Linked DNA regions of Homo sapiens: regions 2, 3, 4 and 5 are each linked to region 1. Evidence: promoter capture Hi-C in 16 types of primary human blood cells and fetal thymus (Javierre and others, 2016). All regions are on one chromosome and are shown on one strand. The core of a region is centred on a gene start or on the middle of the fragment in contact, and the rest is flanking DNA. Distances in the headings are between cores, read along the strand shown.

Region 1 (3,148 bases), core at 264-2,763:
CAGAGGCTTTTCTCCCTTTCATGTTTGTGTCAACCGCTATTCAAAGTGGAGAATTAGAATACCTGGGTAGGGAATGAGTGTATATACATCCACTTACAATTTCAACTGGAATTTTTTTAAAAAAATCATCTACCTTATGCTTGAGTAGTGATCCCTTAACTTTGTCCTGGTGTTATTAGTGACCCAATCACGACTTCAGATGACCCTTGGTAGTCTGTCTTCTTGAGTTCTACTGTACACATCTGAGAGACGGTTTAAATTCTGTACAATTGGCTAGTTGGAAAGAATACAAAAAATAAAACAAAATTTAAGTCACAATTTCAGGATAATTGTAATAAAATTTTAAATGGAAAATTTCTATATTGTATATATGCAACCTATATGACATCTAAAATTGCCTATCCGGTATAGTAACTTAATACGTTTCTTCCTCATTTGAATTTACAATTGCAAATGCCCTGTAAGAAAATCCTAATTACTGGAAATCAAGTATTTTACTAAGTTACTTATTTCAATAATAAAATTTTTTTAGTTCATTGACATACGGGAGACAAGTTGGCTCACTGACTGACTTACACAGCGTATCCGTTCCTAGATTTTCAATTTTTATACTAAAAATGTTGCCACTCATTTATTTACTGGATTAGGTACACCACTACAAAATCAAACAGCTCATCTTACTCTTTATAAAGGTTTTTTTGGGTCCATCATACAATTTGTGTCCTTTACTTAAAAAATTAGAAGACATAACCAAACAAATTATAGTAATTCACCCACAGTCCCATTACCCCAAGAAAACTGTGACTAGTTTTAATTATATCTTCCCCACGATTTTCAACTGAACACACATGAAAGTGCCTAATACGTTAAATATCTTAGCTCCTGGACTTCATACGACCTCACCCATACAGTTAGAATTAGGTACTACTGAGATCGATCTGCCTTCACCTTCTCCAGCCCAGTAGCGAATAAACAATGTAAGTTTCAGAAATAAGCAAAAGAACTTTGCAGTAAAAGAGCCATGGTCCACAGGCCACACATCTCCCTGCAACTCAACTTCGGACCCAAACGCTCGCGCCTCCACACTTTCAGGAATAAATCCTACTCTTCCGCCCAAAACGGATCGACCAGGCTCGATCTCCCAACCAGACCCGCGTGGCCCCTGCGGCTGCAACGGGTAGCACTTGACGGCCGTCCGCACTTCCTCCTTTGTCTTTCCCTTATTCCTTACGTTTCTCCCTTGCTCACTCTTCCCTCCTTACCCTATCGGGGCTGCAGACCCACGGAGGCCACGTTCACTCCTGCCCGTCGGCCTTGGCAAGCGCGGGCCCCTTGTCGCGCAGAGCGGAGGGTCCTGGGAGATCCTGGGTTGGCCCAGCCACACCTTGCGCCGCCGCCGTTTCTGCTGGACACCAGGAGAAAACCACGGCAGCTGCAGCCACCAACTTCCCCTACATAGCCCCACGGGATCGGATCCCACTCCCCACTCACCGCCAGACCGGAAGCAGGAAGGCGGAAGTCGCGGCCTTTGCGTCCCGCCCACAGGCGACCCGAGCCGCCAGCCGGGCGTGAGTAAGTCTAGGGCCCAGTTTCCGGCTGCGCCATTGCTGTGTGGGTCTTGGGACCTCGAGTTGGAGGACGCGGGAGGGTGGGGGCGGGGGCAGGGCAGCGCTGAGATTTCCGGGGAGCGGCAGGTGAGGCCGCGCGGGGCGGGTGACGGCACCCGGGCGGGCTCCTTTCCAGGCTGGAGCCCGAGACTGCCACGTCCTGCGGGGACCAAGTGGTGGGCGAGGAGGCGTGGAGCGGCTTCAGGACTCGAGGAGCGGTTCCGAAGCAGCTAGGGACTTTTGCCTTTGCCCCCCGAGGTCGATCGGAAGACAACCCCCATCCCCTGCTGTAGCGGGACAGTTGGAGGGTCATGGGTGGGTGAAGTGTTTGGCTGAGGGAAACTCAGACCAAAGAGCAGCGGCAAGAAAGCAGTTGGGTCCCCACAAAACGCCCGAAGTCAAGGTGAGGGTCACACAACGACTCTTGACGATTCCGGCGAGTTCATCCTGGTGCACATCCCACTCCATGCCTCTCTCTTCTGGTTGGACAATAGTTACATCCTTACGAAAAGGAGGCAAGCTACTGGGCCTTGGTGGATCCACTCAACCTTGTTACCAAGGGACATGCCGCCATGCTATGTGAAAAGGGGGGTTTTGTTGTTTGTTTTTAATTTAAGTATCTAATTCGTTTCACGAAAGAATGATCAATACCGGCCCAGAGTAAACTTGATAAGTAATTAAACTGTCAGGGCATAGAGTTCCCATAGAGGTGCTTGTTCTTTCAATACACAAATAAAGGGATGCAAAAGTCAACATGCAGAAAGGGTGAGTTAATATTGTCTTCTAATCTACAGGAACTGAAAGATTAGCTAATCTGGTTTGGTTGGTGACCAAATTTTGTGATTGCTTGCACTGTTTGACTACCTCTGACAAATGTTGCAAGACCTCTTCACTGATTCTCCAAAGACTATAGAATGTTCTCTTTCAGGAGCAAGCTGCGACATGTTTAACTAGTTTAGGTAAAACAACAATAACTGTTATTTACCAGGGAACAGGCTTTTGGCAGATAATCTAACGATCTACGATACTGTTCGTTGGGCATATGTTAATGTTTGTAATGTTGTATTACCAGCAGTTGTTTTCTTACTCCTTTTTATTTGAAAACCTGGATGATAGTTTCAAAGCCTATGCTGCTTAGGCCTAGCCTGTACCTTAGTAGCCAGAAAAAGTAGACTCAGTCACTGGATTGTGTGCACTGAATACTTACTTGAGATAACTGATTTTTCTAAAACTTCCCCAAGTCTTGAATCCAAGATGTGGGCAGAATGTATTATTTTAACATCCTTCGTTCCAGAGGCCAATGCGTGTTTTATTTTAATCATGATAGGTGGTTTTCCCAGTTACTGCCTCCGGATACTTGCAGTGCTGCATCCCTAGTTAAAAGCCCAGAAGTCTTGGGCAGGAAGGAAGGGCATATAAAGAGAAAGCCTTTGTAGTTCTTTAGCTGTAATCTAGACCAGGGGTCCCCAACGACGGACTGGTACCTGGTTTGCAGCCTGTTAGGAACGGGGCCGCACAGCAGGAGGTGAGCGATGGGTGAG
Region 2 (2,995 bases), core at 429-2,928, 200 kb after region 1:
TTGAATTTAGGTGTGTTATATAAGAAGCCCCTTAATGTTAATTTTATATTTAAATCAGGACGAATAAAAAGATGAAATACATATATATTCTTGTGGTCTTTTTCCTTGTGTGTGTGTGTTTGTGGGGGAGGGGGGTAAAGTCACAGAGGAGTGGGAGTAGGTCCCAATGTGGACTTTTCCCTGGGCTGAAGGAGAGGGACTTACTTTTGAATACCTACCATGTGCCAGCACTGTGCTAAGTGCTTTAAACACATTGCTTCCTTTTAATTATCCTGTGTGAGATTGGTAGTTACCTTTATTTTACAAATAAAGGTAACTGAAACTGACTTTGTGTGATGAAAAAGTAATAGAAGTGGGATTGAAACCCTCATCTAACTGCTTCTGACAGCCAGGTTCTTTCCTCTGGATCACCTGGAAAAATCTCCAGTTTCTTATCTGTTAAATGAGGAAACTTGGCAAGATAATTTTTAAGGCCCGTTTTTCAGTATCATCCTCCTGATTCTGTAACATACTAATTGTCCTGAGCAGTAGTTACCTCTTTTCTAAGTAAATATTGAAAAAGAAAGTTAGCATCCCACTACAGAAATGTGCTGTATTATTAAGACCAAGAGTACTGACAGGTTATTTGTAAGAAGTTATGAACTAGACAAAGACATTTAAAGTAGTCATGATACTGGATTTTCATGTTTGTTTCCAGGGAACCCCCCTTACCTCCAACTGAGGCTGCTGCCCAGAAGATTAGAAGCTGTGGCTTGTAACGACAGGGGCTCAGGATAAAGCCTTGGGACAACTCCAGTCTAAACAAAAGGCAACCCTGTTATTCTATTATACTTTATGTTGAAAGCATTTGCTCCCAGGTTATTAACTATTATCCTTTCCTCACAGGAAATTTAGTGTGAAATTTGCAAGAAGATCGTGGAAAATATACTTTAAGGACAAGATTCACTGTGGTGCAGTTTGGCACCTTTAGAACGCTAACAGACAAACCTAAAATGATTAACCATTATGTGAGTCTCCCACATGTTTTCACATATGGAAATAGGTGGTTTAAATGGATACCAACATCCTCTCTTGGTATACAGTACTTACCATAAAATATCAAGCGAGTATTCTTAGATATGTATCAGCAAAGTAAGTAAATTTCCAGGCTCTGTAGCATCTTTTACTGTCTTTACTTTATAAACATTCTCCAACCCTTCCTCATTCATGCCTTATTTTTTTAAAATGGGAAATTGAGATATGCCTTCTTACTCACTTTTTTTTTTTTTCTGAGACAGTGTCTCGCTCTGTACCCCAGGCTGGAATGCAATGGCCCCATCTTGGCTCACTGCAGCCTCTGCCTCCCGGATTCAAGCAATTCTCGTGCCTCAGCCACCTTAATAGCTGGAATTACGGGTGTGCGCCACCATGCTGGCTAATTTTTGTATTTTTAGTAGAGATGGGGTTTCGCCATTTTGGCCAGGCTGGTCTCTAACTCCTGACCTCAGGTGATCTGCCCACTTTGGCCTCCCAAAGTGCTGAGATTACAAGTGTGAGCCACTGTGCCCAGCTTTAACTTTTAGTTTTACAGGTTTTCCCTGCAGTAGAAGAAGCTTGCACAGGGAGCCTCAGCTCATGATTTTCCTCCCACCTCTCTGGCCACTCCTTCATTGAGTTTTGGTGCTTCATCCTCTATCTGCCCTCTAAATGTTGGTGTCCCTATCGTCTAAGGCTGGGCACTTTTCTCCTACCTGATGCCCTTTTCTTAGATTATGCCAATTATCCCAAAGCTTTCTGTGCCATCAAGTGATGACTGCAGTTTTTATTTCCAGGTCTGACTGCTCTCCTGATTGCTTGCTTATCTTTTATATCTGTTTAGGTCTGGCAGGCATTTCAAGCCATTTTTAGACTGCTACCCCTGTAAAGTAAGAAAATTTACATCACAACCCAGTACACACATACGTTACTATAAATAACAGAAACAGATTTTCACAAGACAAGACTTATCCCTAAAACATGCCATGCTTGCTGATGTTCTCAATAATACTGTCTCATTTCCATTAAAAAATGCTTTCTGTGACACACAGCATTGGCCTATGACCTCTTAGTGGTTCAGGAACCCACTATTTGAAAAACACTGTTCTTGAGCCACTGTAGATGTTTTTAGAGATGTTGTAGGGAGCCAGCTTACATATTGGAGACTGTGCCCTCCTTTCCCCACCCCACAGGGGGCACTGCCTGCAAGGAAGGTGTTTGATCTGAACCCTCTGAGGCCAATCAAATGGAAAAGGTTTAGTACAGGCTAACAGCACCAGTTTACAAGGCTATCCATACAAGAATGATTACATCAACTCGTGGAAAGTGTCATCATGGAATCAGAGTAACCTCTTGGTTATTTGAAATTGTTTGTTATATAGAATTGGTAAGAATACCCTGTAATCTAGTGACATATAGAACCAGTTTTGAATAGTAACAGAACTGCCTATAAGATTTTATAGTACTTACCTTGCACACTTCTGCTGAGTTCACAAAAGGCTGACTAAACCCTTGTTCTCGGCAATCTCATCTCTGATCCCAAAGTGTTCTCATACTTATTTTAGACTCAACATATTTTCTAATGAAGCTTCTGGAAATAGCTGGTATCATATTACGGAAACTTATTATTGGCACAGTGCCTTAATGATTAGTTGGCTTGGGGGGTGGGGAGAGACCCTAGCTATCAAGGATGGACGTAAAAATACTTTGCTAATATGAGCACTGCTGAGGTTTAAGTCATTCCTGAGGTAAGCTAAAATATGTTTAAAGGTTATTAAAAAGGCACACAGTTTCTCATTTAACATTTTGGTATTAACTTTAGAGGCCAAGAGTTTTAAGTAGTCTCTGTAGGATAGTTTGTTTCCTTCCTTCCTTCCTCCCTTCCCTTTCCTTTTCCTTCCTTCCTTCCTTCCCTCCTTCCTTCCTTCCCTCCTTCCCTCCTTCCTTCCTTCCATTCTTCCTCCCTCCCTCTTTCTTTCTT
Region 3 (3,359 bases), core at 312-2,811, 240 kb after region 1:
AATACTACATAAATTATCTGTCTAAAGAGAGGTATCCAGATTTGACATGGAGGTAGTTTATAGGGTAGGCCACATCTGCATTATTGTATTTTGTAACTTGTTCTTTGTAATATAATTTACTTAGTTGCATCAACCTATATGACCTTTTCTTAATTTGATATACTACAAAAGAAGCTTTAGCATAAATGTTTTCAAAATAATATCACTGCCCAAATGTCCCATTAAGCCAAGCATTTTATGAATCAGCAAGACCAGTCTCCTCTCCCTGCTGTCATTTCTTTTGTCCTTCCCCTTTTCTCCCTCCTGCCAAGTACTTGCATATCTGTGTGCTTATGTTAGCAGCATCCACACTGATACCTGTTCTCTTTTTTTTTCACCCTAGCTCCAGGGGTAAAAGGAGAGACTGAAAAAAAAATATTCTGGAAGTCTTAGATATGGGATAAAATTCAAGGAAATGATTTCTTATCATCTTGTCACCTTTAAAATGTCGTTAATGGAACATGTACATCCTGAGTTTGTAGATATTTCTGTGTTTGGGATGCCTTTTAGTGTAAAGTATCAAGCAGCAAATAGAGCACACATTCTGTAGAATTAAAGAACCTTAGAAAAGATGACTATGAAAATTTTAAGTACATTTAGGGGAAGGAATGATTCAATGGAGAGAATGAATTTGAAGATATATCCATAAATGCTTGAAGTTCTAATGTGGTTTTTAGTTACAGCAGATCTTTTAAAACTACAATGGAATTTTGCCATTATGTCACTCATTATAGTTGGAATTCTACTTTAACTAGATTTGTTTTCTGATTTATATGAAACCTTAATTGCTTGAAGTATAGACTTAAGTTAAAATTTTGTAGCATGGATTCCAGAGATTCTAGTTTGTTTTTTTTTTCCCCCCAGGAAGAAAAACAGGAAGTACTATGTCCAGAAACTAACCAAATGAAGGTGTTTTTAATGACTAACTTTCTTCAGAGAATAAGATACTGTATGGTTTCTAGATTACAGTGCTTTAGGGCTAAATGTGGAAACTGGAACTCCAATATAAGGTTTTGCACCTTAAAGGTTAAGTATCCATTTGTATCCAATAACAACTTAGGAAATTTAAAGTTGTTATTCCCACAATAATTATTACTTTGTCCCTATGGGAATATTTAGAATTTGTATTTTTGGGCATAATATCTTATTTATATTTCACTGTATTTATAGTTGAACCTTATATCTAAATGAATGAGAGAAATTAACTCATTTTTGTATGTAATTTAATTGTGTAGCATTCACTAATTGCTAATGATTTGCACACATGAACAAATCAAACAAAAATCTCTGCTCTTATGTTGTACACTTAGGTAATAAGGTGGTAAATGCATGTATCTAACTCTGGATCTCATGGTAAAATTAAGAGAGTAATTGTGCATTACACCAGGAATAATGTGCTGTTTACAAGTGGATGTCACTTGCCAAGTTTACACATCTGATTTAGAAGAAACAAAGATTTCAGACTTAATTGAGGACACATGTCTTTGATAGCTTTCTTGAGGTAACTCTAGTCCTTTAAGACTATCTTGAAACCATCAGCAGGATTTATTTTAAAAATCCTCCAGTTGAGGCAGCCATTTAAAATTGAGTAATTATTCCCTGGGGCCCAGTTCTTTATTACCAAAATTATAGCATTTTTAGGGTTTAGAACTCTCTTGGGCTCTTAAAGCCATGTTGTTTAGAAAAATTAAAATGTAAAAAATGGCCTAAGATTTCTAAACCATGTGACCTGTGGTCAGTCCTGTTCCTCTTGCTATAGAGCAGGGGACCATTGTAAACAGGAAAATTCTAATCCATATGCAGCTAGCAACTTCAGCCTTTCACAGACTAACAACTAAGACCACTATGAGCCCTATAGCTCCTTTATTTCTCGCATGGGTGCCTCATCACATGGAGGCCAGGGAAGAAGGAGCCTGGGAAAAGGAACACTTTGTCTTCAGATTTAGAAAGCACACTTGGAAAAGAAAAGAGAATCTTTTGAATAAAATCAGAAGGGAATACACGCCTGTAAACAAGATTCTGGAATCGTACAAAATAATGTATGCTTAGACTCTGCGTGTGAGTGGAAACCTTTTTTGGCCAGTGTAGATTTTTGTCATAAGAGGAAGCAGTTTTTAATGTGCAGTTCTTAGTTTTCAATCTTGGGAGCTTCTTGATAATTAAGTGATGTTTTTGACAGTGAGGAAATTAAATTATGTGGGAATTCACTCCCTGAAGTATATTTTTGAGTAGCTTTCCTTGGATAGTTTAACTGTAGTCTTGTCTTCCCAGGATGAATTAGGTGACTTATTGAGGTCTCTTCAGTAGCCATCTTGGGAGGTTTAAAAAAGTAATTTTTTTTTTTTTTTTGAGACGGAGTCTCGCTCTGCCGCCCAGGCTGGAGTGCAGTGGCGCGATCTTGGCTCACTGCAAGCTCCGCCTCCCGGGTTCACTCCATTCTCTTGCCTCAGCCTCCCGAGCAGCTGGGACTACAGGCGCCTGCCACCACGCCCGGCTAATTTTTGTATTTTTAGTAGAGATGGGGTTTCACCGTATTAGCCAGGATGTTAAAAAAGTATTTTTTGTACCACCGGAAAACTTTCCTTCACATTTTCTCACTTATCAGTTGCATTCTTAAAATGATTGCATTTTTTCCCCTTGTTCCCAATGGTTAAATTTTTATTTACTTTCCGATCTTTAGGGGAAAGAATGGCATAAATTAAGGCAGATGAAAAATTTCAAAGGGCTGCCATCGCCCTCTTGAAGTTCACATTGTCTCCAGCTCCTCTAAGCCATGGCTACCACCTCTCAAGGCAAACTCCCATCCCTGTTTTGCTGTCTTTGGCTAGGATTTGTTGGTAGGCAGCAGACCTTATGGTAGAGGAGGGAAGATGAACTTTAAAGAGAAAAGTTCTATAGCCACTGTTGCTAAAGCTTTTGCTCTTTCTATTCTTTTCTGCCAGTAGCTGCCTCTTTGTTTGCTGGGAGAGAAGTAGAAGAGAGAAGCTAAGTCCAAGAGAGGAGAGGGATTTCACCGCCTCCTTTAGCCTTCTTGCTCCTTTCATGGCTCTGCCCCATATTCTCATTTTCCAAACATTCCAATCACCTAGAGAGGGTTGTTTTTTTGTCTTCGGGTTTTTGGTTGTTTTTATAAAATAGAGTTCTTGGGGCCCACTTTTAGTTATTATACTTAAGGAAGTCTGGGGCTTCAGTCCTGAGAATCTGTGTATTTCTTGAGTTATGCAGGTAATTTTGATGCCCAGTTAGATTTGAGAACTGTAGGATATGTTTCCCACCCTAACCTTTGGAGGTCAGGGTCCTAAGTTATAGGAGTCAATACC
Region 4 (3,310 bases), core at 103-2,602, 220 kb after region 1:
GGTTTAGAAAGTGTGAAGATGGATAGGCGACCAGTTTGGCTTTAGTGAGATTATTGTTTCTGTTTGCTTGGATAAAACTCAGGTGCTGGTGGGGTGACTTTGAATGTTGATGGAATATTAGAACTTTTGTGTCCCCCAAACTGCTTAAATCTTAGGTCTGTTGGACCATATGTAAATGGCCTTCTTTTCATATTCACTTTTTTTGCTCTGCCATCTTGTAAAAATCTTGGAGGAGGCCGGGCGCGGTGGGTCACACCTGTAATCCCAGCACTTTGGGAGGCCGAGGCAGGCGGATCACGAGGTCAGGAGATCGAGACCATCCTGGCTAACATGGTGAAATCCCGTCTCTACTAAAAATACAAAAAATAATTAACTGGGTGTGGCGGCAGGCACCTGTAGTCCCAGCTACTCAGGAGGCTGAGGCAGGAGAATGGCGTGAACCCGGGAGGCGGAGGTTGCAGTGAGCTGAGATCGTGCCACTGCACTCCAACCTGGGAGACAGAGTGAGACTCCGTCTCAAAAAAAAATCTTGGAGGAAACTCCTGCAGTCCTGGGGTTTGACTAAGTGGTCTGTGCAGCCCCTTCCATCTCTAAGGTGCAGTGCAGTCTGTCATTTCTAATGGCAGAACTCCATGGACATGGACAACACAAATACTGGTTAATGGTGTTTGGTATATTCTCTTCAAGAAGACAAATATTTTGAGAAATATTTTTATCAAAAGTGGTAAAAGGGAAACATTTTAGAGTTTAAAGGAGTTCTCCCAAGCCAGCATGTATTCCTGGGTTGTCCGGGAAATTCTCGGCTCACTCTTGAGTTTGACATCACCTTTATAGATGACCATAGTTGAAGCTTAACTATTTCAGGGCGGCATGATAAATGAGAAGAATAATGAAAGGCATCCGATTTGACAGAAAGAACACTTAATTTGTAGTTAGACCTGAGTTTAGATCCTGGTTTTAGCCATTACTACCATTGTGACCTGGGGCCAGTTTTTAACTCCTGTGGGCCTCAGTTGCATTAATTGAGATAATTTGTTTCTAGTATCTTGGCCCCTGCATTGGCATTCTATCAATGTTAATGCTCTTTTCTCTTTCATTGTTTCATACTAGAATGCACATCCTCTGTATAGCACATACTGTCTAACATAACCAGGCAGCGTAGTTTACTTGGCTTCTTCATTGAAAATCCATTCAGTTCTTTTGGGAGGCTTCCCTCAGCCCCTGTGCCCCAGGGTGTGCATAATCCTGCTAGCCATAGTGATGATGTCCACTGGCTCTCTTGTCTTTCGAATAGAGGCAAACACCCCAGACTGTTGGTGCCTGATTGGATTCGACTCATGGCCAGCTTTGGATGTGGGGTTTTCAGTGGGGTTCTTGCACAGGCTCAGGGGGAGAACCCTCCCAATAGCCACACTTCTTGAGGTGGTGGGCACAGGTAGGCATAGGAGGGAATGGAAACAGTGGCACTATTGCCCAGCAATTGGACTATGCTAAAGATGGGAAATATTTGAGGCCTAATCTGCATTTGGTTTTCATATATTTCATACTAATTAGGAACACATTTCAATGCTTTGAAGTTGTAAAAAGCTCTCCTGCATACATTCCAAATTGATGTTTCTCTGCCCTGGATATGCCATACATTTAGAGTACTACATCAGGGAAACACAGACCTCAGAAAGACCTTTGGTTTATCCCCAGTGCATCTGTGGACATTTCTCTTCCTGCTTCTGAGTTATTTGCCCGGAGTGATTTGCCTTTGCTTTGTACCTTGTTAGTTTTTTTCTCTCTCTGTTTAAGCAAGGATTAATGCTTCCTTTAATTGGGCTGTGGCTGTTTTACATGGATTGGTGATTGCAAAGCTTTTTGGAGCAGGTGTGGAGCAATGAATAGTCTTTTTAATTTCATTTTTTGATTTACATTTTTTTTATAACCACTTCTGCAACAAATGGTGAAACTCCATGGCTACCCTCTTTTTCAGTCAATGGTTAATGGTTTTTCCATACTCCCCAGCTGCTTATCATGGGCACAGCTGACAAAACCAGAAGAGCCTTTCTAGTAAGGTGAGCTGAGCTGGCATTTGTACAGGACAAAGGACTTTGGTAGAATTAGGGCTTTGACAAAGTGAACAAATGTAAAGGCAGCTGGAAACTTGAGTGTTGCTAATCAGGAATATATTTTGAGATTCTGAAGTTTCCAAAACATGTGTGTACTTAAGAAAAATAACCCAACAACGTGTGGGTTAATAGATTTTCCTGTTTTAAAAATCCCTTTGTGTGGGTTTTAAAGATGTTTTTCATACTTTTGAACAGTTTACTGTCTCAGAGAACATTACTAGCTCTCATTTTATTTTTGAGGCTCTTTATCCACGTGCTCCTGCCAAATGCCCTCTACCAACCACTCATTTATGGGCCGGTTCCTTTATCTTTAGTTGTTAAGACTCTTTTCAAGGGAGCCTTTGCCTTTTGTTGTATTATTTATGATATTGATAATGAGCATTCTATAGAGTTCAAAAGGACTTGTTCTGATTATTGAGAGTTTACTTCTCTGCTGGTAGTTGCTTATGTCAGAAAATAGCTTTCTATGGTAGATTGGCCATCTGCTTTTGGGAGAAATCTACACTTTCCCCCAGTCAGCAAATGGATAATATCAGTAATAAGATACAGTAAATTGGCTGCCCCAACCAAACAGCATATTTATATAAGTTGCCTGAAAACTAGGGTTGTGTCCATTCCATGTTCTCTTCCATATTTCATGCTGATGAAACTTACGATTATTTTAATTATCACCCCTGCACTAAATAAAATAATGGGATATTTCAAATGTAAGAAATTGAGAAAAAGGGCCATGTGTGATGGCCCATGCCTTTAATCTCAGCACTGTGGGAGGCTGAGGCAGGTGGATTGCTTGAGCTCAGGAGTTTGAGACCAGCCTGGGCAATGTGGTGAAACCCCATCTCTACAAAACATATAAAAAAGTTAGCCAGGTGTGGTGGCATGCACCTGTGGTCCCAGTTACTTGGGAGGCTGAGGTAGGAGGATTGCCAACTTGGCAAAACTCTGCCTCTACTAAAAATACAAAAATTAGGTTGGGCACAGTGGCTCATGCTTGTAATTCCAGCACTTTGGGAGGCCGAGGCGGGCAGATCACCTGAGGTCAGGAATTTGAGACCAGCCTGGGTAACATGGTAAAACCCTGTCTCTATTAAAAATACAAAAAAAAATTAGCTGGGCATGGTGGCGCATCCCTGTAATCCCAGCTACTCGGGAGGTTGAGGCAGGAGAATTGCTTGAACCCAGGAGGTGGAGGTTGC
Region 5 (3,280 bases), core at 225-2,724, 180 kb after region 1:
CCGAGAACCTATTGATGGCATTAAGTGGAGGACTTGCTGTTACATGAATGTATACATATACCCATATAATAAAGAATTTGCTGAAAGTTTGAAGTGCTGATACAGAACAACAGAAGTTTGCTCTCAACTTAGTGTATATATGAAAACTTCTCCAGTATTGTTTGTATTTGACCAGGTTTTTAAAATATAATTTATTGTTTTTGTCAACGTGCCTCCTCCTCCTTCACCGGTAAATAGTATACACATAATCCTTCAGGATGTACCTATACATATATGTACTTCTTTCACATAAATGATGTGGTCTCCAAACTGTAGTACTCTCTGTAACCTTTTTTTTTTTTTTTTTTTTTTTTGAGATGGGGTCTCCCTTTGTTGCCCAGGCTGGAGTGCAGTGGTGCAATCTCAGCTTACTGCAGCCTCTGCCTCCCGGGTTCAAGCGATTCTCTTGCCTCAGCCTCCTGAGTAGCTGGGATTACAGACATGCGCCATGACGCCTGGCTAACTTTTGTATTTTTAGTAGGGTTGGGGTTTCACCATGTTGGCCAGGCTAGTCTTGCACTCCTGACCTCAAGTGATCCACCCACCTCGGCCTCCTAAAATGCTAGGATTCAGATGTGAGTCACCACACCCGGCCTTTAAAGCCTTTTGTATGACTTGGGGCAGTTCTTCACTGAACCAGCTGGATGTGATTTATGGTGAGACTCTTTAACACTTCTACAACATTTACTAATAGTAAGAGTAATAACAACTAACATTTCATAGCACTTAACCAGGTGCCAAATACTGCCCTGGAATATAATCAGAAGAAGTGAGTAAGACCTACTGAGAGTATATTCCACTTCCCTCATTTCCTTTTGTGTTTCTTAACAGCCATATGAGTTAGGGACCATTATTGTTTCCGTTTTACAGATGAGGAAACCGAAACACAGGGAAAAAAGTAGAAATAACTTTTATTGCTGTTAAAAACAGAGCCAGACACATGCAGCCTCTTTGGTTGGTGCTCAAGCAATACTGTCCATGATGCATCATCATTACCTATTCCAGAAGGTTTAGCTTTACAGTGTGTTGCTACTTTCTAGAGTGACTTTCACAGTGGCCTGGATTTTAAATTGTGATCAAAGGTATCATTTTAAAATGTTATTTTTTTCCAATTGAGAGGATTTATTTAAAAATCATAAGGATATTTACACATATTAGGATTTAAAAAAATTTTGGTTGTCTTAAAATGGACATACTATAATATTGATCATCTTAACCATTTTTGTGTGTGTGGTTCAGCAGTGTTAAGTACATTTACATTGTTACGCAAATAATCTCCAGAACTCTAAAATTTTACTTGAAAAACTACTACATTAAAAAAAAATGTCTTTTAGGAATGAATTTCAGCTTTGGAGGATGGTTGTGTTGGGTGATTTTGATCATCTTCCATGAGATGTTAAGTTTTGAAAGAGAAATTAACTTGCAGGTTAGATCTAATCGTATATATGCAGCAAAGTTAGGTTTTCAAAATATATTTGAGAAATTAAATATCTCATTTTAAGGTCCTTTTAAAATGTTACAATTATATTATTTCTTGTTGCTGGTAAAGAGATTTGACATTCTTTGAAAGATAGGGTTTTATCTGTGCAATTCCTGAATGCTGATGTTAATTGGAAGGATGCAGTAGAACCTGTCAGTACATTTAAACTCTTACTAACTGAATAAGCTGATCAGATACTTTGGAAGCTCATTGAGTGAATTAATGTGCTTAAAACTCAGGTGACTGGTTCCCTATTCCTGCCTTGAGAGTCTGTTTACTTAAAGTATTTTTCATTGTTAGTTGGTATCAGATCTCTAATGTTGGAAGATTTTATAGAGAAAATATACATGAGAAGATACCATGTAGAATAAGTCCACAAAAGCAAGTTTTAAATTCTCTTACGTAATTACAATCAGTACAGATTAGAATTTTGTATACGCCAGGTTGTATGTGATAAATGTTTGCTGATAGTTACTAGCATTTTTATGAGTGTAGTACTGTGTAGGGATTCTGTAATTTAGGTATAAGGGGCATACCTGGAGTCTTTTCTGGTGTGGCTGTAGGTCTTTGTTGGTAGAGGCCTGGTCATGCTGAACCTTTACTCCTGCTGCTACCTTTTCTATTAACTCATTTCTACAAAGAATATTGTGATTTTTATAATAAGTACTTGTCATAAAATAAGATTCTAAAACCCAAATATCATGTTTGTAATCTAGTTGTTTTATGTGAGCAAACTTTTAAATATGTAATATGTTAGCCCTGTTCCTTTATGACTTTGTTTTTTAGTGTTCTGCAAGTTTCCTTATCCTTAGCACTTTGGACTTTTTTTTTTTTTTTGGTGAGACAGAGTGTCTCTCTTGTCACCCAGGCTGGAGTGCAGTGGTGCAATCTTGGCTCACTGCAGTCTCCAATCTCCACTTCCTGGGCTAAAGTGATTCTTCTGCCTCAGCCTCCTGAGAAGCTGGGATTACAGGCACGTGCCACCACGCCTGGCTAATTTTTTGTATTTTTAGTAGAGACGGGGTTTCACCATGTTGGCCAGGCTGGTCTGGAACTCTTGCCCTCAGGTGATCCATCCACCTTGGCCTCCCAGAGTGTTGGGATTACAGGTGTGAGCCACTGTGCCTGGCCAGGATTTTGTATTCTTGATGCCATTTTTACAGTTCTTTTTCCCTTCTTCCCCCAAATACCACTTGTGTAATTTTTGTCTGATATACGTTCAGCCCAGTGAACTAGCCAGTCTTTTCACGATTGTGGTTTATACTTTTCTCTAGACAGTGGTGAAGCTGATGAGTGAAATGACCAATGGCTGCTTTGTGATGATGGCAGGGTAGAATCAAGTGAGACTTGAGGGCAGCAGGTGCGGAAGACTGTGAACTCAACTTGCCTCACAGCTCCAGTTTGTTCTTTCTTTCTTTCCTTTCTTCCCTCATTTTCTTTCTTCTTTTCCTCTGTCCTTTCCTTTCTTGGGGATGGGGTGAGGGAAGGGAGGAGAAAGGAGTGTGTGGTAGAAAAGAAGACAAATCAGAAGAGATAAGTAATACCTACTGAGAGTATATTCCATTTCCCTCATTCCCTCCAGTTGTCCCCCTCTTCCTCCAATCACCCTTTAGGGAAATAAAGTTGAGGTCAGAAGGACCTATGTGTTACAGCTGCTGCTTAGCTGCTATTTTTAGCATGGCCCTACATCAGGCTGGCACCAGGCCACGACGGCACAGGGTCAGCACGTTGTGGGACTGCTGGTAAATGTCAAAAACTTAA

Evidence for each region. The method cuts DNA at HindIII sites, captures the fragments that hold promoters and counts their contacts. A CHiCAGO score of 5 or more calls a contact.
Region 2: a fragment that was not itself captured here is called in contact with the fragment with the promoter of SMIM15 in region 1 in 1 of 17 cell types (monocytes); the score reaches 6.6 in monocytes.
Region 3: a contact is called between a fragment that was not itself captured here and the fragment with the promoter of SMIM15 in region 1, in 2 of 17 cell types (monocytes and neutrophils). The highest score is 7.7, in monocytes.
Region 4: a contact is called between a fragment that was not itself captured here and the fragment with the promoter of SMIM15 in region 1, in 2 of 17 cell types (monocytes and neutrophils). The highest score is 8.0, in monocytes.
Region 5: a contact is called between a fragment that was not itself captured here and the fragment with the promoter of SMIM15 in region 1, in 3 of 17 cell types (neutrophils, monocytes and M2 macrophages). The highest score is 9.0, in neutrophils.

The regions. Positions count from the first base shown.
Region 1 is chr5:61,160,955-61,164,102 of GRCh38, forward strand. SMIM15 (small integral membrane protein 15) reads right to left here and starts at 1,514. Exons shown (of 3, transcript NM_001048249.4): 1 at 1,263-1,514; 2 at 134-273. SMIM15-AS1 (SMIM15 antisense RNA 1) reads left to right here and starts at 1,362. Exons shown (of 4, transcript NR_109908.1): 1 at 1,362-1,572. RefSeq lists enhancers at 681-1,577, 1,063-1,142, 1,213-1,472, 2,003-2,102, 2,143-2,202 and a silencer at 1,653-1,762. The HindIII fragment of the contact is 8,836 bases long and covers 1-3,148 here.
Region 2 is chr5:61,360,947-61,363,941 of GRCh38, forward strand. The region is part of intron 1 of ZSWIM6 (zinc finger SWIM-type containing 6); the gene reads left to right. Among named protein-coding and RNA genes, the nearest start is that of ZSWIM6, 30 kb to the left of the region's middle. The HindIII fragment of the contact is 177 bases long and covers 1,591-1,767 here.
Region 3 is chr5:61,401,638-61,404,996 of GRCh38, forward strand. The region is part of intron 1 of ZSWIM6 (zinc finger SWIM-type containing 6); the gene reads left to right. Among named protein-coding and RNA genes, the nearest start is that of ZSWIM6, 71 kb to the left of the region's middle. The HindIII fragment of the contact is 2,778 bases long and covers 173-2,950 here.
Region 4 is chr5:61,384,542-61,387,851 of GRCh38, forward strand. All of the region lies in intron 1 of ZSWIM6 (zinc finger SWIM-type containing 6), which reads left to right. Among named protein-coding and RNA genes, the nearest start is that of ZSWIM6, 54 kb to the left of the region's middle. The HindIII fragment of the contact is 1,009 bases long and covers 849-1,857 here.
Region 5 is chr5:61,341,545-61,344,824 of GRCh38, forward strand. The region is part of intron 1 of ZSWIM6 (zinc finger SWIM-type containing 6); the gene reads left to right. Among named protein-coding and RNA genes, the nearest start is that of ZSWIM6, 11 kb to the left of the region's middle. The HindIII fragment of the contact is 5,685 bases long and covers 1-3,280 here.